Linked DNA regions of Homo sapiens: regions 1, 2, 3 and 5 are each linked to region 4. Evidence: promoter capture Hi-C in human tissues and cell types (Jung and others, 2019). All regions are on one chromosome and are shown on one strand. Each heading gives the region's core, a stretch centred on a gene start or on the middle of the fragment in contact. The rest is flanking DNA. Distances are from core to core; before and after follow the strand shown.

Region 1 (5,226 bases), core at 418-2,917, 190 kb before region 4:
AGGCAGGCAGATCACTTGAGATCAGGAATTTGAGATCAGCCTGGCCAACATGGCGAAACCCTGTCTCTACTAAAAATACAAAAATTAGCTGGGTGTGGTGGTGCGTGCCTGTAATCCCAGCTACTCGGGAGGCTGAGGCAGGAGAATTGCTTGAACCCGGGAGGTGGAGGTTGCAGTGAGCCAAGATTATGCTACTGCACTGCAGCCTGAGTGACAGAGCAAGACACCATCTCCAAAAAAAAAAAAAATAGCTTTAACATAATTCTTAAGAGCCCTAGGATTTTCAGAATAGTAAATGAGCATTAATTTCAACTTAAAGTCACCAATTGCATTAACACCTAACAAGAGAGTCAGCCTGTCCTTTGAAGCTTTGAAGCTAGGCATTGACTTTTCCTCTCTAGCTATGAAAGTCTTAGATGGCATCTTCTTCTGATAGAAAGCTGTTTCATCTACTTTCAAAATCTGTTGTTTCATCCAGGTGTGGTGTCTCACGCCTGTAATCCCAGCACTTTGGGAGGTCAAGGAGGGTGGATCACAAGATCAGGAGTTCGAGACCAGTCTGTCCAACATTGTGAAACTGTGTCTCTACTAAAAATACAAAAATCAGCTGGGCGTGGTGGTGTGTGTCTGTAATCCCAGCTACTCCGGAGGCTGAGGCAGGAGAATTGCTTGAACCCGGGAGGCTGAGGTTGCAGTGATCCAAGATCACACCACTGCACTCCAGCCTGGCGACAGAGTGAGAAATCTGTTGTTTCATGTAGCCACCTTCATCATTGATCTTAGCTAGATCTTCTGGTTAACTGGCGACAGCTTCTGCTTCAGCACTTGCTGCTTCACTAGCACTTTTATATTATAGAGATGGCTTCTTTCCTTAAACGTCATGAATCAACCTCTGATAGCATCAAACTTTTCCTATGCGGCTTCCTCACCTCTCTCAGTCTTCATAGAATTGAAGAGTTAGGGCATTACTCTGGATTAGACTTTGGCTTAAGGGGATGTTGTAGTTGGTTGGGTCCTTATCCAGACACTAAAATGTTCTCCATATCAGCAATAAGGCTGTTTTGCATTCTTATCATTTGTGTGTTCAGTGGAATAGCACTTCTAATTTCCTTCAATAAATTTTCCTTTGCATTCACAACTTGCTGTTTGGCCAAGAGGCTTAGTTTCTGACCTATGTTGGCTTTCAACATGCCTTCCTCACTAAGTTTGATCATTTCTAGCTTTTTTTTTTTTCGCACATTCTCCATCCTAGAAGCTTTTTTTTTTTTTTTTTTTTTTTAAGTGAGAAATGTGCAACTCTTTCTTTCACTTGAAAACTTAGAGGCCACTGGGCCTGGTGCGATGGCTCACGCCTGTAATCCCAGCACTTTGGGAGGCTGAGGTGGGTGGATTGCCTGAGGTCAGGAGTTCGAGGCTAGCCTGGCCAACATGGTGAAACCCCGTCTCTACTAAAAATACAAAAATTAGCCAGGCATGGAGGCGCAAGCCTGTAATCCCAGCTACTCGGGAGGCTGAGGCAGGAGAATCGCTTGAACCCAGGAGGTGGAGGTTGCAATGAGCCGAGATCATGCCATTGTACTCCAGCCTGGGCTACAAGAGTGAAACTCCGTCTCAAAAAAAAAAAAAAGAAAAAAGAAAACTTAGAGGCCATTGTAGAGTTATTTATTTATTTATTTATTTATTTATTTATTTATTTTCAAGATAGAGTCTTGCTCTGTCGCCCAGGCTGGAGTGCAGTGGCACAATCTCAGCTCACTGCAACCTCCGCCTCCTGGGTTCAAGTGATTCTCCTGCCTCAGCCTTCCAAGGAGCTGGGACTACAGGAGCATGCCACCACACTCGGCTATTTTTTGTATTTTTAGTAGAGACAGGGTCTCACCACCTTGTCCAGGCTGATCTTGAACTCCTGGCCTCAAGTGATCCACCTGCCTCGGCCTCCCAAATTGCTGAGATTACAGGTGTGAGCCACCCACCCGGCCTCATTTTAGGGTAGTAATGGACCTAATTTTAATACTGTGTGTGTCAGGGAATAAGGAGGCTCAAAAAGAGGGAGATAGGGGAATGGCTGGTAGGTGGTGCAGTCAAAGAACACATATTTATTAACTTCTGTGTCTTACATAGGTGTGATTTGTGGCATCCCAAAACAATTACAATAGTAACATCAAAGATCACTGATCACAGTGATCACAGATCACTATAACAGACAGAGTGATAATTAAAAGTTTGAAATACTGTGAAAATTACCAAAATGTGATACAGAAACACGAAGTGAGCACACGCTGTTGGAAAAATGATGCTGATAGACTTGCCCAACACCAGGTTGCCACAAACCTTCTATTTGTAAAAATGTAATCTGCAAAGTGCAATAAAGCGAGATGCAGGTGAATGAGTTATGCCTGCATATATTTGAAATTTTTTCACAATAAAGTTTTTAAAAATGGAGATTTGCAGAATATGGAATAGTGTGTTTCAAAGAGTGGTCTATATAGCATTTGCTTTGGAGTCACCTGAGCTGCTTATTAAAATGCAGATTCCAAAGTCCACTCTAGACCTGCTGAATAAGACTCTCTAGGAGAGGATCCTACAATCTGCAGTTGGGTGATTCTTGCACTCAGGTTTAAGCACCACAGATGTCAAGAGCCTTGCCGAGGATTATAGAACTAGTACACATCACAGCACATGTTCTAGATCAGGATCCGCAATACCCAATCCACACCCTTAACACAAGGCCTCATGGTCTAAATTGAATCAGGAACCTCCCTCAAGACTTTTTACTTGAACTACTGTCAAGTACTAAAATATATTATTTTACATTAATAACCTTTTGATTATAATTGCAATACCCTCAGCACTCCTTGCCTATCGCCTTGTAAGATGTGCCTTTGCTCCTCCTTCACCTTCCACCATGATTGTGAGGCCTCCCCAGCTATGTGGAATTGTGAGTCCATTAAACCTCTTTTCCTTTATAAATTACCCAGTCGTGGGTATGTCTTGAAAATGTAGAAATGAAGAAAAGTATGAAGAAAAATTTAAAATCCTTAGAGACACAGTTAGCTAACTGCTAAATTTCAAGCAAGAGCTAACTAGGTGGGGAGACATTATTCAGGGGTACCCCTAACAACCCATCACTTTCTGACTGCTTTCACCATCTACCCCTGCAGTGAATCCTGTGCCTACCATTCCTCTTGGCACTGAGAGCAAGGCAGATGGATCCAAAATCATTATTCTTCTCATTAAATCTTTGGATGTGTCTTCTCACTCACAGACACCCTCTTGACCACAGAATTGCACACACATCAAATGCAGATATGCACATGTGTCCCTGATGTAACTCACAAAATCTAACATTCATACTTATATATTTTTTAGTCCAGCACAGATGCTAACCACTTTTTTTTTCTCTCTGTGCCAAGGTTCTATCTTTTCCTTCTTCCACCTAATTTTCCAGGCTTCAGAGCATGTTGGGGCTTTCAGGTCCCCAGTAAGAATTGTAAGTTATATAATCACTCCTAGTCTGGAAAGCTGATGGGCAGGCAGGTTAATTTAAGAGCTCTAGTTTAACCCAAGAAAATAAGAAAGTTAGAAAAAATAAACTTTTTTTTTCTTTTTTGAGACGGAGTCTCACTCTGTTGCCCAGGCTGGAGTACAATGGCACAATCTCAACTCACCGCAACCTCCGCCTCCTGGGTTCAAGTGATTCTCCTGCCTCAGCCTCCCGAGTAGCTGGGATTATAGGCACACGCCACCACACCTGGCTAATTTTTGTGTTTTTGGTAGAGACGGAGTTTCATCATGTTGGCCAGGCTGGTCTCGAACTCCTGACCTCAGGTGATCCACCCTCCTCAGCCTCCCTTTCTCTTCTTAGTCATTAAAAACCATGGCTATGGCTGGGCACAGTGCCTCACACCTGTATTCCCAGAACTTTGGGAGGCCAAGGTGGGTGGATCACCTGAGGTCAGGAGTTCAAGACCAGTCTGACCAACATAGAGAAACCCGCGTCTACTAAAAATACAAAATTAGCTGGGCATGGTTGCGCATGCCTGTAATCCCAGCTACTCGGGAGGCTGAGGCAGAAGAATGGCTTGAACCCAGGAGTTGGAGGTTTTGGTGAGCTGAGATGGCGCCATTGCACTCCAGCCTGGGCAACAAGAGCAAAACTCCGTCTCAACAACAACAACAACAACAAACAAAAACAAAAACAAACAAAACCCATGGCCGCCTGGCTGACTGGGTAAGCAGCTACTTGCAAGTTTTAGCTACTGTACACAAATACATCATCCTACTACAGAGGTCTGCCCTAAAGTGTATGTGTGGGTTTTTGTTGTTGTTGTTGTTGTTGTTTGGTTTGGTTTTGGTTTTGGTTTGAGACAGGGTCTTTCTCTATGCATCAAGGCTGGAATGTAGTGCCATGATCATGGCTCACCGTAGCCTCCACCTCCTGTGCTCAAGCGATCCTCCTGCCTCAGCCTCCCAAGTATCTGGGACAGTTAAAGTGTGTTTCACTGCATGTATACAGCTGGATGAGGTAAAGTTAAGTCAGAGGACAAGAGGACTCTTTAGAGAGTCCACTTCTGAAAGGAGGGTTAAAGGGACAGATAATGCTTCTGTCAAGGATTCCTCTTCCTCCCTTTCACCCCAAGCTGGTGCTCAGGTGGGGAGGACCCTAGTCTTACCAGCCCTCTGAAGTAGGTGGGAGAGGATGTGGTCCCCTCATTTTATTCTTTCTTTCTTTCTTTCCTTCCTTCCTTCCTTCCTTCCTTCCTTCCTTCCTTCCTTCCTTCCTTCCTTCCTTCCTTTCTTTCTTTCTTTCTTTCTTTCTTTCTTTCTTTCTTTCTTTCTTTCTTTCTTTCTTTCTTTAGGGAAAGAGGGAATGGGATGCCAGAAGCCTATAGCCCACCCAAATACTAACCAGGCACAACCCTGCTTAGCTTCCAAGATCAGACAAGATTGCGTGTTTTCAGGGTGGTATGGCCATAGACCTCTTATTTTCATAACGTTCCAGAGTCCTTATTTTTGATAAGAAGTTTGGCAAAGGAGTCATGCCATCAGTAGGATCCTTTCTGATGGTTACAAATAACCAACTAATTAATATTTGCCCAGGACATAAAGGAGGAAAGATAATTTAAAACAAATAATTCCTCAACATCATATGGCATTGCATCTACACATTTCACATTTTCCAGGTTAAAAAATAAAAATAAATGAAAACAATATCATATGGCCCTT
Region 2 (5,547 bases), core at 203-2,702, 200 kb after region 4:
CTCGACCTCCCAGGCTCAAGTGATCCTCCTGCCTCAGCCGCCTGAGTATTCTTTGTAGAGATGCAGTTTCACCATGTTGCCCAGGCTGGATAGACTTTCAAATGTTCCTGGCTTATGATTTATCTAGCCTTAAAAAAAAAACAAAAAAAACAAAAAAAAAACTAGGCCAGGTGCGGTGGCTCACACCTGTAAACCTATCACTTTGGGAGGCCTAGGTGGGTGGATTACTTGAGGTCAGGAGTTTGAGACCAGCTGGCCAACACGGTGAAACCCCATCCCTACAAAAAAAAAAATTAGCCAGGTGTGGTGGCATACACCTGAAATACCAGCTGCTCAGGGAGCTGAGGCAGAAGAATAGCTTTAACCTGGGAGGAAGAGGTTACAGTGAGCCAAGATCGTGCCACTGCACTCCAGCTTGGGCGACAGAGGGAGACCCCATCTCAAAAAAAATTCTAGAAAATGCCCAGCCTCTTTGAAATATTCTTTCCTGAAATTTTGATTGTCAAGTCTCACATTTATCTTCATTTTGTTGTTTTATAGACAGGATCTTGCTCTGTCACCCAGGCTGGAGTGCAGTGATGCCATCATAGCTCACTGCAACCTCAAGTTCCTGGGGTCAAGCAATCCTCCAGCCTGAGCCTCCAGAGAAGCTGGGACTATAGGCATGTGCCACATGTCTGATTTTTTAATTTTTTTTTAGAGACAAGGTCTCCTTATGTTGCCCAGGCTGGTCCCCAACTGAGGACCTCAAGCAGTCCTCTCTATGCCTCCCAAAAAGTTGGGATTACAGGTGTCAGCAACTACACCCAGCCTCTTCCATGTTTTTTAACCTCTTTTCCTTAGTTTCCACTTCTCTGTATGTCAGTGCTCTCTCTGTGTAACTTCAGATCTATTTCCAGTTCATTCTCCCTTTAGGGAGAAGTCTAATCTGCTGCTTAACCATAAAGTTTCTAACTTCTCGTAGTGTACTTTTTTTTTTCTGAGGTGGAGTATCACTCTTGTTGCCCAGGCTGGAGTGCAGTGGCGCAATCTTGGCTCACCGCAACCTCCGCCTCCTAGGTTCAAGCAATTCTCCTGCCTCAGCCTCCCAAGTAGCTAGGATTACAGGCATGCGCCACCACGCCCGGCTAATTTTTTGTATTTTTAGTAGAGACGGGGTTTCACCATGTTGGCCAGGCTAGTCTCGAACTCCCAACCTCAGGCGATCCACCCACCTCAGCCTCCCAAAGTGCTGGGATTACAGGCACGAGCCACCATGCCTGGCCCTACTTTTCATTTTTAAAAGGTTTTCTTTTTAAGTTTTACTTTTTTTTTTTTTTTTTTTGAGATGGAGTCTCGCTCTGTTCCCCAGGCTGGAGTGCAGTGGCACGATCTCGGCTCACTGCAAGCTCTGCCTCCCAGGTTCATGCCATCCTCCTGCCTCAGCCTCCAGAGTAGCTGGGACTACAGGCACCCGCCACCACGCCTGGCTAATTTTTTGTATTTTTAGTAGAGATAGGGTTTCACTGTACTAGCCAGGATGGTCTCCATCTCCTGACCTCGTGATCCACCCGCTTTGGCCTCCCAAAGTGCTGGGAACACAGGCGTGAGCCACCGTGACCGGCCTTAAGTTTTACTTTTTAATCACACCAGTTTAGTACCTTTTGATATTCATTTGTCACACTTTTTCTTTAAACATAAGACATTTTGTATTTTTTATTTTATACTTCTCACATTTTAATTTTTGCCAGTCTGGACGACAGAGTGAGACTCCATCTCAAAAACAAAAAACAAACAAAAAAAAAACAATCCTCAAGAAAGGATTACATTTGCTTCTGCCAGGACCCTGGAGACACTATCTACTTGAGACTTTTTTTTTTTTTGAGACGGAGTCTCGCTCTGTCGCCCAGGCTGGAGTGCAGTGGCGCGATCTTGGTTCACTGCAACCTCCGCCTCCCGCGTTCAAGCAATTCTCCTGCTTCAGCCTCCTGAGTAGCTGGGATTACAGGCGCCCACCACCACACCCGGCTAATTTTTGTATTTTTAGTAGAGACAGGGTTTCACCATGTTGGTCAGGCTGGTCTCGAACCCCTGACCTCGTGATCCACCTGCCTCTGCCTCCCAAAGTGCTGGGATTACAGGTGTGAGCCACCATGCCTGGCCATTTTTTTTTGGGGGGGGGGGCGCGGTGGTGATTTCACTCTTTTTGCCCAGGCTGGAGTGCAGTGGTGCGATCTTGGCTCACTGCAACCTCTACCTCCCAGGCTCAAGTGATTATCCTACCTCAGCCTCCTGAGTAGCTGGGATTACAGGCACCCACCACCACACCCAGCTAATTTTGTATTTTTAGTAGAGATGGGGTTTCACCATGTTGGCCAGGCTGGTCTTGAACTCCTGACCTCAGGTGATCCGCCTGCCTCGGCCTCCCAAAGTGGTGGGATTACAGGTGTGAGCCACCACGCCCAGCCTACTTGAGACTATTTTAAACTAAGTTATCAGCCTGAGGATTTTCCAGACCACATGGGTTATAAACTCTTGTCCCAAACAGTACTGAAGGCCAGCTGTGCTTGTATATTACCATGGAAGCTTTATATCCCTACCTCTTAACATCCCTTGCATCCAAAACCAAAGCCAAGTAGGGGAGTTGTGGGATTGGTTCACCCACTAAATGATCTTGTCATCCTTGAGGGGCCCAGATTTAAGTGGGAGGGGTTTCTGATCTGACTTCCCAGTTGTAGATGCCTTAGGCTTTATTGCCTATCCCAATATGTGGCCCACTAAAAAGTAGTTCTAGGCTACCCACAAATCCCACATAAAAGCAGAGGCCTTAAGGCCGGAACGGTGGCTCAACGCCTGTAATCCCAGCACTTTGGGAGTCTGAGGCAGGCAGATCACTTGAGGCCAAGAGTTTAAGATCAAACTAGCCAACATGGCAAAACTCTATCTCTACTAAAAATACGAAAGAAATTAGCTGGGCTTGGTGGCGGATGTCAGCTACTCGGGAGGCTGAGGCACAAGAATCACTTGAACCTGGGAGGTGGAGGTTGCAGTGAGGCGAGATTGCACCACTGTACTCTAGCCTGGGTGACAGAGCGAGACTCTGTTTCGGGGGGGAAACACAAAAAGAAGGCCACAAAAAACAGAATAAAAAGATGAGTAAAGAGAATGTTTATGAAGTGGCTCCTACATAATGTCCCAGCCCTGGGAGTCACGAACAGACTCCATGGTTTTCATTGGCCCCTCTTCTTCGGTATCAGAATCCCTGGTTTAAGGCAAGGATGAGAGAAGAACACGAGGACGCAATGAACCAGATTCAAGCTGAGGCTGTGTGGCATGGCAGAAGGCTGAACTATTCTTGTGTAGCCCTAGGGATAGTCCAAGAGCCCTCTAGTCTTCTCTGAGGCAATGAGATTCAAGGGCAGCTGTGATCCTTGCCCTTGAACGGAAACCAGCCGTGGCCAAATCTGTCCTCACAGATCCATGTCTCCCTGGGGCAGTGGCAGAGCAGAGGATAGTTCCTTATTACTCTTTGCTCAAAGGGAGATGTCTCCTGTCCTTGCCTGCATTTCGTCGCCTCTTTCGACTCAAGAAGTTCTCCAATTTCTTGCTGCGTTTCAGCTCCTTGAACTTCTCAGCTAGTGCCAACTGGCGCTGCTCAGCTAAATGACAGGGAGAATGAAAGTTGGTGAACAAAGAAGGAAGCCCCTATTCTTTCCCAAACCAGGTCAGTAACTCCAAGCCATTATGCTGGATACATGAGTTCTTTAAAGCTCACTGGTGCCCCTCTATCTTTTTTCTGAGACGGAGTCCTGCTCTGTTACCCAGGCTGGAGTGCAGTGACGCGATCTCGGCTCACTGCAACCTCCGTCTTCTAGATTCAAGTGATTCTCCTGCCTCAGCCTCCGGAGTAGCTGGGATTACAGGCGCGCACCACCACATATGGCTAATTTTTTTGTATTTTTAGTAGAAACAGGGTTACGCCATGTTGGCCAGGCTGGTCTCGAACTCCTGACCTCAGGTGATCCGCTCTCCTCAGCCTCCCAAAGTGCTGGGATTACAGGCGTGAGCCACTGCGCCTGGCCAACGGGTGACTTTTTTTTTTTGAGATGGAGTCTCACTCTGTCACCCAGGCTGAAGTGCTGTGGCACGATTTCAGCTCACTGCAACCTCCGCCTCCCAGATTCAAGCGATTCTCCTGCCTCAGCCTTCTGAGTAGCTGGGATTACAGATGCACAGCACCACACCCAGCTAATTTTTGTATTTTTAGTAGAGACGGGGTTTCACCATGTTTGCCAGGCTGGTCTTGAACTCCTGACCTCGTGATCTGCCCTCCTTGGCCTCCCAAAGTGCTGGGATTACAGGTGTGAGGCACTGCGCCCGGCCCAACTGGTGACTTTTTTTTGTTTGTTTGTTTTTCCTGTGAGATGGAGTCTCACGCTGTTGCCCAGGCTGGAGTACAACAGTGCAATCTAGGCTTTCTGCAACCTCCACCTCCCGGGCTCAAGTGATCCTCCTGCCTCAGCCTCCTGAGTAGCTGGATTACAGGTGCACGCCACCAGGCCCGGCTAATTTTTTTATATCTTTAGTAGAGACAGGGTTTCACCATGTTGGCCCCCAGGCTGGTCTCGAACTCCTGACCTCGTGACCCCCCCACACTGGCCTCCCATAGTGCTGGGATTATAGGCGTGAGCCACCGTGCCCAGCCCAACTGATGACTTTTTATATGATCTCAGTACTACTCAATTCAACCAACTATGAACACCTATGTGCCTGGCCCAGCGTGTGTGCATGTGTGTGTGTGCAGTGTAGACCAAGAAACAAAACTGATTGTGTGTGTGTGTGTGTAGACCAAGAGATAAAACTCTGTGTGTGTGTGTAGTATAGACCAAGAGATAAAACTGATTGTGTGTGTGTGTGTGTGTAGACCAAGAGATAAAACTGACTCTGTGTTTGTGTGTGTGTGTGTGTGTGTGTGTGTGTGTGTGTGTAGTGTAGACCAAGAGATAAAACTCACTGTGTGTGTGTTGGGGGGGGGGGGTTGGGAAGTGGGGAGTGTAGACCAAGAAATAAAGGTGACAATGCCTGCCATGATCTAATTAGGGATACAAGACTGGTTACAAACAACTCCCTACTATTTCTACTTTCCTCCAAGTTACCATGGGATCCAGCCTTCATGCCTTCCTTAAAGGGGATCAGGGACACCCCAACACAAGACTCTACCACCATGGCCCCTGCACCCCTGTCCCTGTTAGCAACAGTTGTGCCCAACTCACATTTTTTCAGGAAGTATGGCCGATGGCCCTGCTGGGCCTGAGCCCGACGTTCTTGCTTCAGGGCCAGGTGCAGCTCCTGCTGTTGCTTTCGTTCCTGCTGTGCCATTTCTTGCTGCTCCTGAGGAGCAAAGATGAGATGGGTGAACGGGAGGGATCTGTTCAGATCTGTGAATATCTCCCACCTTTAATTGCTTTCATTACCCACCACAATTATTACCCACTCACCATTCGCTGAAGCAGTTGCTGCAGTTTCTCATGCTCCTCTCCTGAAAGGTGCTTCTTCAACTGTTTTTTC
Region 3 (5,138 bases), core at 229-2,728, 150 kb after region 4:
TCCACAGCTGGCAGGCCAGAAAGATATTAGAAAGGCAATTCCTTACCCATGCCCTTCCCATTGCCACCTTCAAAGGAGATGGAAGGTGATCACCTAGGACAGGTCTCCTCGACAGAGCTCCCCAAGAGAAAGCTGCTTCGAGGACCACCAAGGAGTGTTGTGGAGGGTCGGGGGCTTTATTTCCAGTCCGGGCTATTTGGGATGTGCGGGTGGCTTGGTGCTTTCCTGTAAGGCACTTCAACACCTCAGTGATGACTCTTAGGTGTGACCAAGCCAGGAAATAAAAGCTGCGGGAGTTGGGGGGGCGGTGCTGTCTGCCCTGGTGATGAGGGCCACACCCTCGTTAAAATGCTAAGGCCCCCCCCCAAGAAAAGCCAGAATGAGCTCTTTTTGCCTTTCTTCCCTTAGAAATACTTCCTTTCCTCTGTGAGGACAGTCAGGATGGAAATCCAGGAAGGAGCAGAACAAACCCCGTCCGCACCTTTGCAGCCAGGCCATGCCCGATTTTGGCAGCGGCCTTCACACATTAGTCACCGCGACAGCCTGGGACCCTCGGATCCCCGGATTCGGCCCTGGCACGGAGTGGGCGCAGGGTTCCAGACCAGTAGCTAGAGGCCATGGATGGGGGCGGCCCCTAACTCTTCCCTTCTTCCGCCCTCACCCGCAGGGCCATCTGGGGTCTCAGCTTTGCCCAGGAACTCGGAGGAGGGAAGCCGGGAACGTCGGGTCGGCGTAGGTAACAAAGCTCCGCGCTTTGCGCGCCGCAGGTCTGTCCGGCATCGGGCCCCAAACCAGCAACTCTTACCTGGGCCGACCCTGCCGGGTGGGGTGGGGAATTCCTTTTTCTCCATCGCGCTCCCCACGGTGGGTGCGGATGGTCTTTTCTCCCCCGACAAGAAACTCCCCATCTGGGCCCGAGAGCCAGCAACTCTCGGCAGTTCTCGAGCAAACTCTCGGCTCAGACCAGAAAAACTCAGGGAGGCTGGAAATGCGTCCCCGCGGCGCGAGTGGGAGGGGTACCCTGACCGCGTCCCTGGAGGCTTCGCCAGCCTCCCGACACCCGGGCTCCTTGCGCCCTTCCGCCGCAAGCCTGCACCCCCAGCGAGCCTCTCCACTACTCCAGGGCCGTTCCAGCCGCCCAAACCCACCGCCCCGGGCGCAGCCTTTTGCCCACGGGACTCCCGCGCTTCCCAAGCTCTGTGCCCCCAACTCTCGGGTACTCACCGCCCAGCAGCGGCAGCAGCAGGACGCTGAGCAGAGGCAACCGGCGGGGTCTGGCCGGGGATCCCCGCGCAGCTCCCATCGCGGCGGGCTCAGGAAAAGGAGCTGAGGGCGCACGGCGGGCGCGCAGACTGCGCTCCGCGGCGGGCACAGGAGGCGGAGCGCACCGGAGCGCGGGCGCCGCAGCAGCAGCCGCAGCCGGAGCCCGACCCCGAGGCGTCCCGAGGCGTCCCGAGCCGGAGCCGCGCGCGCCCAGTACCTCCGAGTCCCCGCGCGCCGCCGCCGCCGCCGCCAAGCCCCGCCCCACGACGCCCCCTCCCCTCCGGCCCCCGCACGGCGCCCCGCCCCCTCGACGCCCCCTCCTCGCCGAGGCGGGGAGGAGCTCAGTAGGGGGAGGGGTCTGGAGAGGGATGGAGAATAGAGAGAGCAAGGCTCAGGGAAGTGCAGGGGACCTGAGTATTTGCTGTACCCACCACCGACTCTGCAGGGATCCGGGAGAACCTAAGTGACTTGTGCGATTCCGTGGACCCTGGGGAGAATGGTCCATTCTGGGCATACCTGGAGGCTCTGGCCAACAGTTCCCCCAGAATTCTCCAGGTGGGGGCAGGGGAAGAGGCGGGCCCCGCCAACTCTTCAGCAACCCAAAATCTTAACGGCAGACCCAGAACAGCAGGGTGTCCTTAATGTCCCCAAGTAACCTGAAGATGCTGTGTAGCCCGGAGAGGGGCTGAAGTGTGCATGACTGGGGTCTGGTTTGGCTGTAGACCAATCTGAACCCAAAGGTAGAAACACGCTGGGCTCTGAAAGCCAGGCTGAAGTCTGCTAACTGACAAATTCATCCCAAGTCCATCTCCAGGCAGTCTGGGCTGTGTCAGGGTATGGCCAAGTCTCCAGCTGTGGGGAGGCCCAGCACAACCCTTGTTCCAGGCACCCCCACCCCCAGCGCCACCACCCCCACATTCTTTCTTTGTTGTGAAAGCAGCAAGGGGTGTAGGAGGCGGGTCAGGAGGAGTCAAGCTTTAGAAGATGGGCCCCAGCTGCTGCTCAGGCCTCCAAGATATGCTGAGAGGGGATGGATAGTGCCTTGTCTCCCCTCTGGTTCCGGAGGGCCCCCCAGGCCTGTTTAGACCTCCCTTCCCCCAAGCAGCTGGGAGGAGGAATGGCAGCCACAGAGGGCCTCACAGCCAGGAGAAGTGGCGCCAGGACTCCAGGGTCCTGCCACATGGCCACCACATGTCCCTGACAACCCAGTCCACAGCACCTTCTCCTTGGGTTGTGAGCCTCCTTCTTCCCCATCCCCCAGATGCCTTCCTACAGGCCCTGCTGGAGATGATACAAACAACGGGAGGAAGAGAGGAGAGATCCAAGAATCAACACTCCTCCTGCTGCTCCATCCATCACTGCCCCTCACCTTCTGTGAAGGGCCCCAACACAAGCCCTGCTTCATACCCTCTTCAATCAGGACTCAAGTCACAGAAAGGTTACCTGATTCTTTTATTTAAGAAAAGTGAAATACATGGACCTGAAGTGAGACAGCAGAGGGAGGGAGTAAGAGCGGCCAGGGCAAGGCAGCTTGGCTGGCCAGCCCCCAACCCTCTGACTGAAAAGCCAGCAGCAGGCTGCATCTCTGAGGGCCATACCTGCTTTGTACCCACCTTGGGGCCTCAGAGCTAGCTACTCTAGAGGACCACAGGGTGCAGAGAGGGTGTCCTGAGGGTCCTTCCTAAGAGGGATTCCTGAGGAGGGAGCTGAGACCCTAAGGGCAGCAGCAATCTTCTGGTTAAACTGCTCCCCTTCACTGTCCCACCTAGGGGTGGGGAAGAGCCAGGAGCAATGGGGAATGCTGTGAGGGCTGTGGGGGTGGGGGGACCCAGCAGACCTGGGGGCCGGGTTGAATGTCAGCTGCTTGAAGAGAGGTCCATGGTGCTGGCACTGAGGCCCCGGGAGACCTGAAACAGACAACACTACCCCATCAGCTCAGGGACCTCGGCCTCCCAAAGACTGGCTCCTAGAGTCCATCCATCCCATGGTCACAGTGTATCTCTGGACCTAGGATCACATCTGTCTCTGGACCAGTCTATCTCTGGACCTGGGACTTTGTTTAGCCTCTGCTAGGGTTTTCCAGAAGGCCACAATCTGGTGGAGAAGCTACCTGGAAGAACCACATGAATACTGGCATATACTTGTGTGTTGATACAAGAAGTCATTTGCCATTAAAATATCACTAGTGTTTTCTCAGATGGGGATTATTTAATACTTTTCTTTTTCCATTCTCATCTACTACTAAGGCGGCTGCAGGATGAAAAAATAATTCGTATCTCCAAATAATTCTTAAATTATTCATAATTCCAAAGTACCAGTTTACAGAATATTCCTATTTCCCTCCTTATTAACTTATTTGCTACTATGTCTGGCCTGAAACTGTCCCTTGGTGGTCAGCACTCACCACAAGCTATCTGCCTGATTCCTTAATGACTGCAATCCCCTGGCTCATCTTCATCCCAGATGACTCCTCTCCCTTCCCTCTTCCCTTACTCCACTGGGCTTGCTCACTGGCTGTCCTTTTTTCCTCACCCACCAATATGCTCACAAGCACTGCTCTCACCTGGAGGGGTGCTGCACTAGGTTGGTTCAGATAGTTCAAGGAGGCTGCTCGCTTCATGTTGCTGCTACAATGGAAAACGGAAGAATTGAGGCCTCCTCTCTTCCTCCTGAGTGGCCTTAAGGCTGTGGGCCTCTTGAGCACTGCCACACTGGGGCACCCATTCTACCCAAACTCTCTCTCCATGGCTGGCCCGTTGACTTCCTCCCTGTTTCTCTCCGAGATACTTCTCCAGAGATCAGGAGCCAAGAGGAGTTGGAGGCAAGGGCTTACTTTACTTGCCTGCTTTACCATATCTTTTTTTTTTTTCTTTTTTTTTTTGAGACGGAGTCTCGCTGTTGTCGCCTGGGCTGGAGTGCAATGGCATGATCTTGGCTCCCTGCAACCTCTGCCTCCTGGGTTCCAGCAATTCTCCTGCCTCAGCCTCCCAAGTAGCTGAGATTACAGGCACCTGCCACCACACCCGACTAATTTTTGTATTTTTAGGAGAGAGTTTCACCTTGTTGGCCAGGCTGGTCTCAAACTCCTGACCTCAGGTGATCCACCCGCCTCGGCCTCCCAAAGTGCTGGGATTACAGGCGTGAGCCACTGCACCCGGCCACTTTACTGTATCTTGACTTCCATGTATACCTGGAGGGCCGAGGCTCAGTCCCCTGGAGCTTCCTCACCAAGAGTTCACTGCTTCTGCGGAGCACATCCCGGATCTTGCCAAGAGAGCCACTCCTCTGCAGGGTCCCACTGCCATCCTGGCAGAAAGGAGTGAGCAATGAAAGCTACAAGGATCCCACACAGATGGGTTTCTGAGTCTACTCCTAGCATTTATTCTGCACACATCCCCCACCCCCAAGGCCCAGTGACTGGAAATAAAAGTCCTGTCAAAAACTGGCTCCCAGAGATACCCCTGAAGGAATACACTACCTAGACTGGGACAGCATGGCCAAGAGCCTCTCACCACCACCAGCAGGAGTGGGCAGGAGAGATGAAAAGGCAATGATCAGACTTACCCCGGACCACTCCACAGCCACAGAAGCATCTTCACCTCCCTCGAATTTCACACTGTCTCCAGGGCCCTCCTGGGAGGTCCTTCTACCATCACTCTCCCCAAGCAGCTCTGCCACCTTCGTCTGGCTGATAGGGTCAGTGCCCTGGAAGGAAAAGGAAGGACCTGGGACTTCCTACTCCTTAACTCCTCAGGATGGGGCTTTCAAATTTTTTTCACCATCAGCCACTGGAAGGAAAACATTTTTCCTTGTGATGTCTCAGTTTATACCTACTGGAATAATACTTACCTTTTCTATTTGCAATGCATTGCTAT
Region 4 (5,817 bases), core at 2,073-4,572:
GTCCGTGTATACCTAGCTGGGCCCAGCAGAGCAGTGGGCAGAAATACTCTGAAATCTCTATCTCCCTTTTGTATCTTAGCATTAAAAATATACATATTGTTGCATCTTCTCTGCACTCGCATACTTCAGTATTTTATCTTTCAGGAAGAATACGGAAGAAAACACTGATGGAGCTTTCCTCTGGGGAGTGGGGCTGGGGTCTCAGGACTTTCTTTCCACTGCATACTCTCTTGTTCCATTTGAAGGTTTTGTCATATATTTGTGATTGTCATAATAAAATGAGGATGAAATCAGTATTGGTGAACAATGAGTGCTTGCCTGTCTCCCTGAAGATACCGCCTCTATCAGCCTACTTACTACAGGGCTGAGCAGACTGTGAAGTGCTGTGAAATACATCCTCTCATTTAAACCACTCATTCATTCAACAAATATTTAATAAATGTTTCTTATGTGCCAGGCATAGTTCTAGAAACCAGGGATAGGCTAGGCACAGTGGCTCACACCTGTAATCCCAGTACTTTGGGAGGCTGAGGTGGGAGGATTGCTTGAGCCCAGGAGTTTAAGATAAGCCTGGGCAACATAGTGAGACCCCATTTCTATAAAAAATTAGCCAGGCATGGTGGCACTCGCCTGTAGTCCCAGCTATTCAGGAGGATGATGAGGGAGGATTGCTTGATCCTAAGAGTTTGAGGCTGCAGTGAGCTGTGACCATGACACTGCACTCCAGCCTGGGTGACAGAGCAAGACACCATCTCTTAAGAAAGAAAAGAAAGAAAGAGAAAAAAAGAGAAAGAAAGAAAGGGAGGAAGGAAGGGAGGGAGGAAGGGAAAGAAAGAAGAGAGAGAGAGGAAGGAAGGAAGGGGAAAGAAGGAAGAAAGAAGGAGAAAGAAAGAAAAAGAAAGAAAGAAAGAAGAAAGAAGGAGGAAGGAAGGAAGGAAAGGAAGGACGGGAGGGAGGAAGGAAGGAAAGAAAGAAAAAGAAAGAAAGAAGAAAGAAAGAGAAAGAAGGAAAGAAAGAAAAGAAAGAAAGCAGGAATACAGCAGTGAACGACCTTCTACTAGGTATAGAAAAACATGCAACAAAATTAATAAGTTATATGGTGTATGAGAAGGAGAAAAGGCAAGGTAGGGAAGGGTGATAGAGAGTACTGGGGGATGGAGGGCTGCCATATTGAATAGGGTGATCAGGGAAGGTGAAGTGTGAACAAAGACTTGAAGGAAATGAGGAGTGAGCCAGGAAGCTACCTGGGAGAACAGTGTTCCGGGCAGAGGGAACAGCAAATGCAAAGACTCTGAGGCAAGGGCATGGCTGACATGCTTAAGGAACAGCCAGGAAGCCAGTGAGGTGGCAGAGAAGTGAATGAAAGTAATAGAAGCTGGAGTTAGGGAAGTAAGAGGGTGACAGGATCATCTGGAGCCTTGTGAGCTACTGTGAGGTTTTCAGTTTTTACCCCAAGTGAGATGGGAACCACTGGAGGGTTTTGAGCAGAGGAGGGTCATGACCTAGATCACTCAAGCTGCTGAGTGGAGAGCAAACTGTAGCAGGGAAGGGCCAGGGGAGGTGTATAGAGAACCCTTGACATAAGTAATTCCATCTTAGAAAGACTCCATCACTGGGCACATTCGCTTATGCCTGTAATCCCAGCGCTTTGGGAGGCTGAGGTAGGGGGATTGCTTGGGTCTAGGAGTTTTGAGACCAGCCGTGGAAACATAGTGAGACCTCGTCTCTACAATTTTTTTTTTTTTGAGATGGAGTTTCACTCTGTTGCCTAGGCTGGAGTGCAGTGGCGTGATCTTGGCTCACTGCAACCTCTGCCTCCCGGGTTCAAGCGATTCTCCAGCCTCAGCCTCTGGAGTAGCTGGGACTACAGGAGTGTGCCACCACGCCTGGCTAACTTTTTGTATTTTTAGTAGAGACGGGGTTTCACCGCGTTAGCCAGGATGGTCTCGATCTCCTGACCTCGTGATCTGCCCACCTCGGCCTCCCAAAGTGCTGGGATTACAGACATGAGCCACCGAGCCCAGCCAATTTTTTTTTTATTAGCTCAGCATGGTGGCACGTGCCTGTAGTCCTAGCTACTCAGGAAGCTGAGGTGGGAGGATTCCTTGAACCCTCAAACTTGAGGCACGAGTTTGAGGCTGCAGTGAGCAATGATCGTGCCTCTGCACTCCAGTGTGGGCGACAGGGACCTTGTCACCAAAAATAATAAATAAATAAATAAATAAAGTTTTAAAAAACTTCATCTTACATTTCAAAAGGCATCAAGCCAACAGGGTCCAGATGTTCGCCTAACCAATGGAGACAACACCCAACCAGATAAGGGCATCACCCTTTACTATAAGTCCTCATCAGAGGACTCAAGGACCATAAAATGATCAGGACTTCAGCAGCTAGACACGGCCACCTTAACAGACCGAGTCTTGCTATCACTCGTGCCCAGCACCTGGTGTCTGCCTCTGAAGGCTCTGCCCAAATCAAGGACTCTTCCTTGCAAGCTCTTGATGACTATCCCCATCAGGCCGGGACTCTGTCCACAGCACTCTCCTTGGACTGGTTCGTTAACCCCTTTTCTCTTGATGTTAAATGTTCTTGTGTTTGATGTGAAATTTTAACCTGTAACATTTATATCCTTACATATAATACTATGGATGGTTTGCAATACAGTCTGACTTGTGGAGTGGCTCCAGCTTGCATGCCCGCGGCTCTGACTACCGAGTGAACAGGTGGTCCTAAGGAGAACTGACTTCTTGGGAACTCCGTGTGACGCCTAGCTTTTGTGATTGAAATAGCATCAGTAAAAACCTGATCTTGTGGACAGACACAAAGGTGGGTGGACCTGGTTCTGTCTGACCTTGAGCAGCTCACGACATGTGGACACCTGTTAGGAGGCTGTGGAGAGCCCAGAGGAGGCTTAGACCAGGGTGGTGGCCCTGTAGGCGGTCGTGAGATTTCAGATTTGGAAGGACGAATCCACACGAGTTGTCAATGGATGGGACGCAGAGTTTGAGAGAAAGGGAACGATCCAGATGACTCCGAGGGTCTTGGGCCTGAGCAGCTGGGAGGATGCAGCTGGGGAAGACGGCGGGGAGGAGGGGAGCAGAAGCGGGTGAGGTGGGGAAGCCCTCGAGTTCTGCCTGGACAAGGTCAAGTTAAGGTGCGTGTTAGGCATCCGAACGTCAAGTCCAGGAAGGGTGTGTTCCCGAAAGGGTCCCGGCTGGATCCTCCCAGTTCGTCGTCCCCATTCCACAGGTGTGGACTCAGCAGCCGGGCTCTGCGCTGGGCCGGGCGGGGTCACGTGGCCGCGGGCTGGCGCCCCCTGGCGCCGGAGAGCGCGGGCGGCTGGGGAATGGCTGCTGCCATGGTGCCGGGGCGCAGCGAGAGCTGGGAGCGCGGGGAGCCTGGCCGCCCGGCCCTGTACTTCTGCGGGAGCATTCGCGGCGGACGCGAGGACAGGACGCTGTACGAGCGGATCGTGTCTCGGCTGCGGCGATTCGGGACAGTGCTCACCGAGCACGTGGCGGCCGCCGAGCTGGGCGCGCGCGGTGAGGCCCTGGGGCCGCGGGACGCGGGGACGCGGGCGCGGACCTGGCTGGGGTGGCAGGGACCCGGCCTGTCCGCCCCCCCGACCCCCGGCAGCTGCGCTCCCGGCGCCCGGAGCCCGCCCTCCTACCCCGGTGCTCCATCCAGCGCCCCAGCCCGAGAAGGAAACGGGCCGGGGCTCGGGCTGCGTGGGTCCCAGCAAGCCTGCGGGTGTAAGGCAGACTCAGCATTATCTTGACCTTTGGTTCCTTCTTGGAGAACTCTGTCTTCAGCTGCTTTCAGAGCGTTTGTAGGGTGCAACAGAAAGAAGGTAGATTGGGCTGCTTTGCTTGGGCTCAGTTCCCACCTCACCCGCTGGAATCTTTTCCACCACCCAACACGAAAGGTATCCTCCTGCCTCCCCACCAACTTTTTTTGTTTTGTTTTGTTTTGTTTTTGAAACGGAATCTCACTCTGTCGCCCAGGCTGGAGTGCAGTTGCGTGATCTCGGCTCACTGCAACCTCGACCTCCCGGGTTCAAGTGATTCTCTTGCCTCAGCCTCCCGAGTAGCTGGGACTACAGGCACGCGTCACCACACCCGGCTACTTTTTGTATTTTTAGTAGAGACGGTGTTTCACCATATTGGTCAGGCTGGTTTCGAACTCCTGACCTCAGGTGATCTGCCCGCCTCGGCCTCCCAAAGTGCTGGGATTACAGACAGGAGCCACCGCCCAGGGCCTGCCTCCCCTTTTTCTGTGAAGACATCAGCACTCTTTTAGACCTGGCTGACCCCAGTTCTCACTATTACCCTCTCTCACATTTTTGTTTTGTTGATACAAGGGCCTCTCTGTCGCCCAGGCTGGAGTGCAGTGGTGCGATCATAGCTCACTGCAGCCTCGGCTTCCTAAACTCATGATCCTCCAGCCTCAGCCTCCTATTAGCAAGGACTGCAGGGGCACGACACCATGCCTGGCTCAAAATTTTTCTGTAGAGATTGGGAGTCTCACTATGTTGCCCAGTCTGGTCCCGACCTCCTAGCCTCAAGTGATCCTCCCGCCTCAGGCCTCCCGAAGTGCTGGGACTATAGATGTGAGCCCCCATGCTGGCCTCATATTCTCTTTCAGGCCATTATTGTGTTCTGCTCCTGGCTGCTGGGTTTTTCTTTCTCTTTCTATTTATTTAGTTATTTATTTGGAAACAGTCTTGTTCTATTACCCATGCTGGAGTGCAGTGGCAAAATCTCAGCTCACTGCTAACCTCTGCCTCCCGGGCTTGAGCAATCCTCCCACCTCAGCCTCCCAAGTAGCTGGGACTACAGGTGTGTGCCGCCATACCTGGTTAAGTTTTGTATTTTTTATAGGGACGGGATTTTGCCATGTTGGCCAGGCTGGTCTTGAACTCCTGAGCCCAAGTGATCTGCCTGCCTCAGCCTCCCAAAGTGTTGGGATTACAGACATGAGCCGCTGAGTCTGGCTGGATTTCTCTAAAGCATATTTGATGTGCTGGTCTGGAATCTTGCAGATCCTTCCAGTTTGAAAATTGTATCTTGAATGCTTGTGCTTCTGCTCAGAAAACCTTAAGTGGTTTCCACTTATCCTACCCAAGAGCAGACCCACAATTTGTGGGACCTCATGCAATTCTGGGAGACCTCTTTAAAAAGACAAAAATCACAATACAAAGTTGCTGATGGTTTGGAAAGGGCCTGTGCAAGTGGAGGACCCTGAAGCTTACAGCTCATTAGTTCATGGTATATCCAGACTGCCTGGTGGCTCTCCAGGTCTTTAGTGTCATCTGAGGGAGCCTGTTAAAAATGCAGGTTCTGATCATCTGGGATAAAGCCTTCGAATATGTACTTTTTTTTTTCCCCCAAGACAGAGTCTTGCTCTGTCGCCCAGGGTGGAGTGCAGTGGAGTGATCTCCGCTCATTGCAACCTCCTCCTCCCAGGTTCAAGCAATTTTCCTGCCTCAGCCTCCCGAGTAGCTGGGATTACAGGCGCCTGCTACCACGCCTGGCTAATTTTTTAATTTTTAGTGGAGATGGGGTTCCACCATGTTGGCCAGACTGGTCTCAAACTCCTGACCTCGTGATCCTACCGCCTTGGCCTCCCAAAGTGCTGGGATTACAGGCGTGAGCCACCGCGCCTGGCCCGAATCTGTACTTTTTCTTGTTTTTTTTAAGATGGAGTTTTGCTCTGTTGCCCAGGCTGGAGTGCAGTGGTGCGATCTCAGCTCACTGCAACTTCCGCCTCCTGGGTTCAAGTGATTCTCCTGCTTCAGCCTCCCAAGTTGCTGGGATT
Region 5 (5,826 bases), core at 2,558-5,057, 240 kb after region 4:
GAAAGCTCCCCAACCCCTGAGAACATTCAAGCAGGGGCTTGGTGACCTCCTGTAAGGCATGTTGCAAAAGAAATTCAAGCCTTTAATGAGGACTGGAGGATCTTGGAAATCACTTCCAGCTCTGAGATTGTGCAATTCAATAGCAGCCAAGCCCCTTCAGTGAGAAGTGTTAAATCGAGTTATTGTGACTATGGGGGCAAAAGGATTTCAGGGAGAAGAGAGCTCTGTGTGGGCTGGAGTAGGGGGAAGGCTTCTTGGAGGTGGGGAGGAAGAAAGGTGTGGTGTAGAGCAGCTCCATGCAGTAGGGGGAAGGAGTTCCTTCTTTGGCCTGAGCACGCTCCTGCTGTATACTAACCCAGCTGGCCACACTGACCCTTATCAGTGGCTGAGAGCATGGGGTGGAGAGAAATAGGCCGGGGGCAGGGTGCAGGCAGGACACAACATTGAGGTGTCTGCACACACCCCAGACATGAACCCCTTGAACAAAGCTGACCCATCTTCATACATCTCCAATCTATTAGACCATAAGCTGCTTATTCTTTTTTGTACCCCTCCACCCACCCTACAGCACTCAGCATGATGCCTCAGACGTATCTTTCAAAGAATGAGCCTAAGAGAGATCCAGCTGCCTTAGTGTGTGGGTGTGAGTGGGCATGGAGGAACCAGGCCTACCACCCTTGCTCCCTGGCTCCTGCAGAACAGGTGAAGCACACACATTTCAGCCCAGCTCAGTAGTCAAATGCTGTGTAGCACAGAGGTTAAAAGAACATGTTTGGACTCAGCCCTGTGTTTTGGGCCCAACTCTTACTGGCTGTGTAATCACAGGCAAGTTAACTAGCCTCTCTGAGCCTCAGTTTCCTCATCTATTAGATGATGACAATCATAATACCCTCTTCCCTCAGCACAGTGTTAAGGCACATGAAAACCGTAGTGCTGGTCAATGTTATTACTATTATTATGAACAAGAAAAAAATCGGAGGGGGCAGGGGCACCCTACTCAGGAAAATAAAAGAGGTAAGTCCCAGAGGAGAACATGAAGGAAGAGGAGAGATGCGAATCCCTCCAAGAGATTATCTTAGCACCTATCCACTAAGCACGTACTTACCGTGTGAAAAGGAGTTGTCAAACCAAAATGAAACTTAGTTATTATCTCAAAGGGGAAGAAAAGTCTTGTCCACAATTAATTCCCATCCAAGGCCAAACACAAAAGGACCATAAGTGGCCTACTAAGTGTTCTGCAAATCCAGAAAAGAAAGGAGAGTTCACTCCTGACTGAGGGCTCAGAAAGGCTTTAGAGAGGAAGCTGTGAAAGATGGCCAGGAGAGAGGGGACAGGTCATAGATGAGCAATAAAGATCCTCCACCCACAGCCATCCAGACAAACCTCAGTCACACTGGCAACCCCCCTGCCCCTTAGAGCCTGCCAACCATTGAAGAAGGCCAAATGCAACTGAAAATCAAGAGCAGAAAAACCTTATAGGGAGGTGAGAGTTATGCCTGGCTCCATGCACCCCGTTACTTCCAACACCCTTTCCCAACCAAACGTTTACACCCATGGTCCTAGCAAATCTCACTGGCAATTTGTCTTCTTCACAATCTAGTAGGCTATTGCTTTCTGTGGATGGGACAGTATCTAGTCCAACAGACTAAAAATTACAAATGGGTGGGGACCTCACCAGCTTTCCCCGAATTCCATTTCCCTTAGCCCCTGTTGTGGCTGATTTCTGTGTGCATTGTCTACGACTGAGCTACCCAAACCACCTCCGCATGCCCACTCCCCAAGGACAGGGCCTGGGTGGGGCACAAAACCCTGTCCAGCTCACTACTCCCAGGAGGCTCACTATCTAGTACACCATCACCAACCCTGTACTTAGAACCTCAGGCCCTGAAAGGTTAAGGGGACAACTCAGAATCAGAGCTGCCTGGCAAATACAGAACAGCCCCAGGAGAAAAAGTTTGATTGAAAAGGTCAGAGATGGCAGCCCAGTAACCCAGCCAATCAGAGGGCAAATGAAAGCAATATACCTCTGGGGTCATCGAGCAGGTGGCCAGAACACCAGGCCAGAGCCAACCCCCACCAAAAAGGGCCAGCCCCAGGAGAGGAGAAGCTGGGGGAGGCTGGAACTGGTATCCTAGCATCCTATGTGTGAGTCTGTACCTCAAAGGAACCACACCTCTGAGTCAGACCTCAGCAACAGCAGGAAACAGAGGGTAGAAAAAGGCACGGATGAGGAGCAGGGGAAGGCAGCACCGAGGTAGATGAGGAAGGTGAAAGAAGGCAACATTAAGAACTGGCCTGTGGGCCAGGCACGGTGGCTCACACCTGTAATCCCAGCACTTTGGGAGGCCGAGGGGGTCAGATCACCTGAGGTCAGGAGTTCAAGACCAGCCTGATCAACATGGAGAAACCCCGTCTCTACTAAAAATACAAAATTAGCCGGATGTGGTGGCGCATGCCTGTAATTCCAGCTACTTGGGAGGCTGAGGCAGGAGAATCGCTTGAAGCTAGAAGGCAGAGGTTGTGGTGAGCCGAGATCGCGCCATTGCACTCCAGCCTGGGCAACAAGAGCAAAATTCCATCTCAAAAAAAAAAAAAAAAAAAGAAATGGCCTGTGTCAGGACATCATGATAAAGACATGGGTGTTCAGGGGTGGCTGGCCTGCAGGCTAAGAAGGAACAATAATCTGACAGTGAGGACAAATTCCCAATTTGAAGATGGTGTAGCTTAGGAAAGGCAGAAATCCAGCACTGGTGCGAAAAGAAAAAAAAAAAGGAAAAATGCAAAGGTTATCCTAGGATTAAGAATAAGGGTGAGGAGCCTACTCAGATTAGGAAAGGTGACTGGTCTAGGATGCACTTGGGTGACAGTTAGGAGGGCTTTGATACAAAAGAGGCCTTTAAGTCAGGAGACCTGATATTGCAGCTGGGCCTCCAGCAGGCTGTGTGACCTTGGACAAGTCCCTTGCCCTGTCGGGGCCTCAGTCTCCTCATCTGTACCATTAGGGATTGCACTGCATGCGCTCAGAGGTCCCTTCCAGCACCAACGTTGTGAGGTTCCATCAACAGAAGGGCTCAGTCCTGCTTACAAGTTTGTGTGTGAAGGAAGAACTAGAGGGAGGGGCCTAGGCCAGATTTGGGTGGAGGAGAGAGAAAGCAGCGCTGTTCTAGGTCAGGGGCTTGGCATGGAAAGAGAAGGGGCCGTAGGGGACTGCGGGGCGGCTGTCCCAGGCGGGTAGGAAGAGGAGACAAGGGGCTGCTCAGGGCGGGGCGAGGGGGCAATTCTGGAGGAAGGTGCAGTTTCAGATGAGGGGCTGCCCAAACCGAAGGGGGATCGGGGCCAGGGGTGATGGGGGGGACAGAAAAAGCAGGACAGTGACCTGGGAATGGGGCAGATCTGGAAGAAGGAGGTTACCCTGGGCCGGGGGTAAGAGAAGGGAAGAAGGGAGGGAGGTGTATGTGGGGGGAGTCTCTCCGGGGCAAGGTGGGGGAGCTGTCCTAGCTGCGGCACAAGCTGGGGGTGCTGCCAGCCGCGGGGGCGGAGGGCTGGCCCCAGGAGTCCTGCGGGGGCTGGACGGGAGGGTCAGTCTGGGGCTGTCCCGGGCCTGGCTCCGGCCCCTCCCAGAGCTCCGCGCAGGCTCCAAGGCGGCGGTGGGGGAAAAAGGGCCACGCTCACCTTCTCCTTTTTCAGTTTATAGGGCATCTCGGCCCGTCCGGACCCGGCCCGTCTCCTGCGGCCCCGCTCCGGCTCCGGCTTTGCTCGGCCGCACTCGGCCCGCTCGGCGTCTCTTCGCCACCGCCTGCGCGCTGCGCCCGGGTCGAGCGGTGCCTGCGCCTCCAATTGGCCCGAACTCCTACAAAACTGCCTGACAACCAGGCGCCGCCTCCTCGGATTGGTCATTGGAGCCAAGCTGCTTCCTTTTTTTCTTATTGGAAAGAAATAGTACAAACCGCCAGGGTTCGGCTTCCAGAATTGGCTGAAGTGGGTGGTCCCGCCCTAAAGTGGGTCGAGCTTAGAGAAGGAGGCGGGGATAAGGGGAAACCCAAGCTTGGCTAGGAGGGCTGCACTCCAGCGTCTGCTGTGCGTCGGCCTCGGCCATTCTTCGCGGCGCTTGGAGCCCTGCTCTTTCCTTCTAAAGGCTCTCACACTTTGCCCGCTCTGCTACCCTGTCCAGTCGGAATTGGAGGAAGGAAGCCCTAATACGGAGGGCACCTTTCTTCACTGGGGTAAAGTAGCCCTAATTGCAGATGCAAAATTGATGGAGGGAGCTCCCAAGGACCTTCCAAGACACCCGCCTCCCTAGACAGGGGTTGCAGAGGAGCAAAGGGGAAGCCTGGCAGGGCTAGGACCTGGGCGAAATGAGTGGAGAATCCCTGGCTTGGTGCAACTTTAGGAAGAGGGTCCCCGTTGCTACTGCAAGTGTACTGGGATTGGGGAACCAGCTAGATTTGAGCAGTTGGGAACGCAGTGGAAAAGCAACTTCATTGTTGACTGTCTCAGGAAATCCATCCCTTACTTGCCACCCTGCTCAAGTCCGTGTTCTAATGGGTAAGACTCAGTTTATGCCCACAAAGAGTTCGCAGTCTGGTGAATCACAGATGTGTATAAACAAAGGATTAAGAGAGAATGTAAACCAGGCAGGCACGGTGTCTCACGCCTGTAATCCCAACACTTTGGGAGGCTGAGGCAGGAGGATCACCTGAGGTCAGAGGTTCGAGACCAGCCTGGCCAACATGGCGAAACCCCGTCTCTATTAAAAATACAAAAATTAGCTGGGTGTGGTGGTGCACGCCTGTAATCCCAGCTACTCGGGAGGCTGAGGCAGGAGAATCACTTGAACCCGGGAGACGGAGGTTGCAGTGAGCCGAGATCACACCACTGCACTCCAGCCTGGGCGACAGAGCAAGACTCTGTCTCAAAACAGCAACAATGACGACAAAAAGAATAAACCTGTGGCCAGGCTCGGTGGCTCACGCCTGTAGTCCCAACACTTTGGGAGACCAAAGTGGGCAGATCACGAGGTCAGGAGTTTGAGACCAGCCTGACCATAGTGGTGAAACCCCATTTCTACTAAAAATACAAAAATTAGACAGGGTGCGGTGGCTCACGCCTGTAATCCCAGCACTTTGGGAGGCCGAGGTGGGCGGATCACGAGTCAAGAGATCGAGGCCATCCCGGCCAACATGGTGAAACCATGCCTCTATGAAAAATACAAAAATTAGCGGGGCGTGGTGGCGCGCGCCTGTAGTCCCAGCTACTCGGGAGACTGAAGCAGGAGAATCACTTGAACCCGGTAGGAGGCTGAGGCAGGAGAATTACTTGACCCCGGTAGGTGGAGGTTGCAGTGAGCCGAGATCATGCCACTGCGCTCCAGCCTGGGCGACAGAGCAAGACTCCGTCTACAAAAAAAAAAGAAGAAACCTGTGATGCAAAGGCATGAGAATGATACAATGGAGGCCGGGCGCGGTGGCTCACGCCCGTAATCCCAGCACTTTAGGAGGCCGAGGCGGGCGGATCACGAGGTCAGGAGATCGAGACCATCCTGGATAACACGATGAAACCCCGTCTCTACTAAAATAATACAAAAAAATAGCCGGGCGTGGTGGCAGGCGCCTGTAGTCCCAGCTACCCGGGAGGCTGAGGCAGGAGAATGGCGTGAACCCGGGAGGCAGAGGTTGCAGTGAGCCTAGATCATGCCACTGCACTCCAGCCTGGGCGACAGAGCAAGACTCCGTCTCAAAAAAAAAAAAAAATACTACACATTGGGTACAGTATACACTGCTTGGGTGATGGCTGCATCAAAATCTCATAAATCACCACTAAAGAACT

What was found. The method cuts DNA at HindIII sites, captures the fragments that hold promoters and counts their contacts. A contact is called where the count stands out against the background at its distance.
Region 1: a fragment that was not itself captured here is called in contact with the fragment with the promoter of DNPH1 in region 4 in 4 of the 25 tissues and cell types used here (dorsolateral prefrontal cortex, mesenchymal stem cells, psoas muscle and 1 more).
Region 2: a fragment that was not itself captured here is called in contact with the fragment with the promoter of DNPH1 in region 4 in 2 of the 25 tissues and cell types used here (dorsolateral prefrontal cortex and lymphoblastoid cells).
Region 3: the fragment with the promoter of PTK7 here is called in contact with the fragment with the promoter of DNPH1 in region 4 in 2 of the 25 tissues and cell types used here (adrenal gland and neural progenitor cells).
Region 5: a contact is called between the fragment with the promoter of PPP2R5D here and the fragment with the promoter of DNPH1 in region 4, in 1 of the 25 tissues and cell types used here (stomach).

The regions. Positions count from the first base shown.
Region 1 is chr6:43,417,847-43,423,072 of GRCh38, reverse strand. All of the region lies in intron 5 of LOC105375065 (a long non-coding RNA gene), which reads right to left. Among named protein-coding and RNA genes, the nearest start is that of ABCC10, 7.1 kb to the left of the region's middle. The HindIII fragment of the contact is 7,247 bases long and covers 1-5,226 here.
Region 2 is chr6:43,027,183-43,032,729 of GRCh38, reverse strand. It overlaps RRP36 (ribosomal RNA processing 36), which reads right to left. Exons shown (of 7, transcript NM_033112.4): 5 at 5,478-5,547; 6 at 5,253-5,370; 7 at 3,131-3,638. The coding sequence ends at 3,502. Among named protein-coding and RNA genes, the nearest start is that of RRP36, 8.3 kb to the right of the region's middle. The HindIII fragment of the contact is 7,304 bases long and covers 1-5,104 here.
Region 3 is chr6:43,072,654-43,077,791 of GRCh38, reverse strand. It overlaps PTK7 (protein tyrosine kinase 7 (inactive)), which reads right to left and starts at 1,478. Exons shown (of 20, transcript NM_002821.5): 1 at 1,225-1,478. The coding sequence starts at 1,303. KLC4 (kinesin light chain 4) reads right to left here. Exons shown (of 16, transcript NM_201521.3): 13 at 4,828-4,968; 14 at 4,454-4,569; 15 at 3,827-3,890; 16 at 2,699-3,170. The coding sequence ends at 3,120. KLC4-AS1 (KLC4 antisense RNA 1) reads left to right here and starts at 1,562. Exons shown (of 2, transcript XR_002956347.1): 1 at 1,562-2,097; 2 at 2,525-3,459. RefSeq lists a silencer at 1,391-1,490 and an enhancer at 1,820-2,343. The HindIII fragment of the contact is 20,814 bases long and covers 1-5,138 here.
Region 4 is chr6:43,226,986-43,232,802 of GRCh38, reverse strand. It overlaps DNPH1 (2'-deoxynucleoside 5'-phosphate N-hydrolase 1), which reads left to right and starts at 3,322. Exons shown (of 4, transcript NM_006443.3): 1 at 3,322-3,542. The coding sequence starts at 3,347. RefSeq lists silencers at 3,024-3,463, 3,524-3,713 and an enhancer at 3,041-3,540. The HindIII fragment of the contact is 36,780 bases long and covers 1-5,817 here.
Region 5 is chr6:42,982,551-42,988,376 of GRCh38, reverse strand. PPP2R5D (protein phosphatase 2 regulatory subunit B'delta) reads right to left here and starts at 3,807. Exons shown (of 16, transcript NM_006245.4): 1 at 3,673-3,807. The coding sequence starts at 3,699. It overlaps LOC124900215 (a long non-coding RNA gene), which reads left to right and starts at 4,063. Exons shown (of 2, transcript XR_007059580.1): 1 at 4,063-4,545. RefSeq lists silencers at 3,449-3,598, 3,689-3,758 and an enhancer at 3,909-4,028. The HindIII fragment of the contact is 19,136 bases long and covers 1-5,365 here.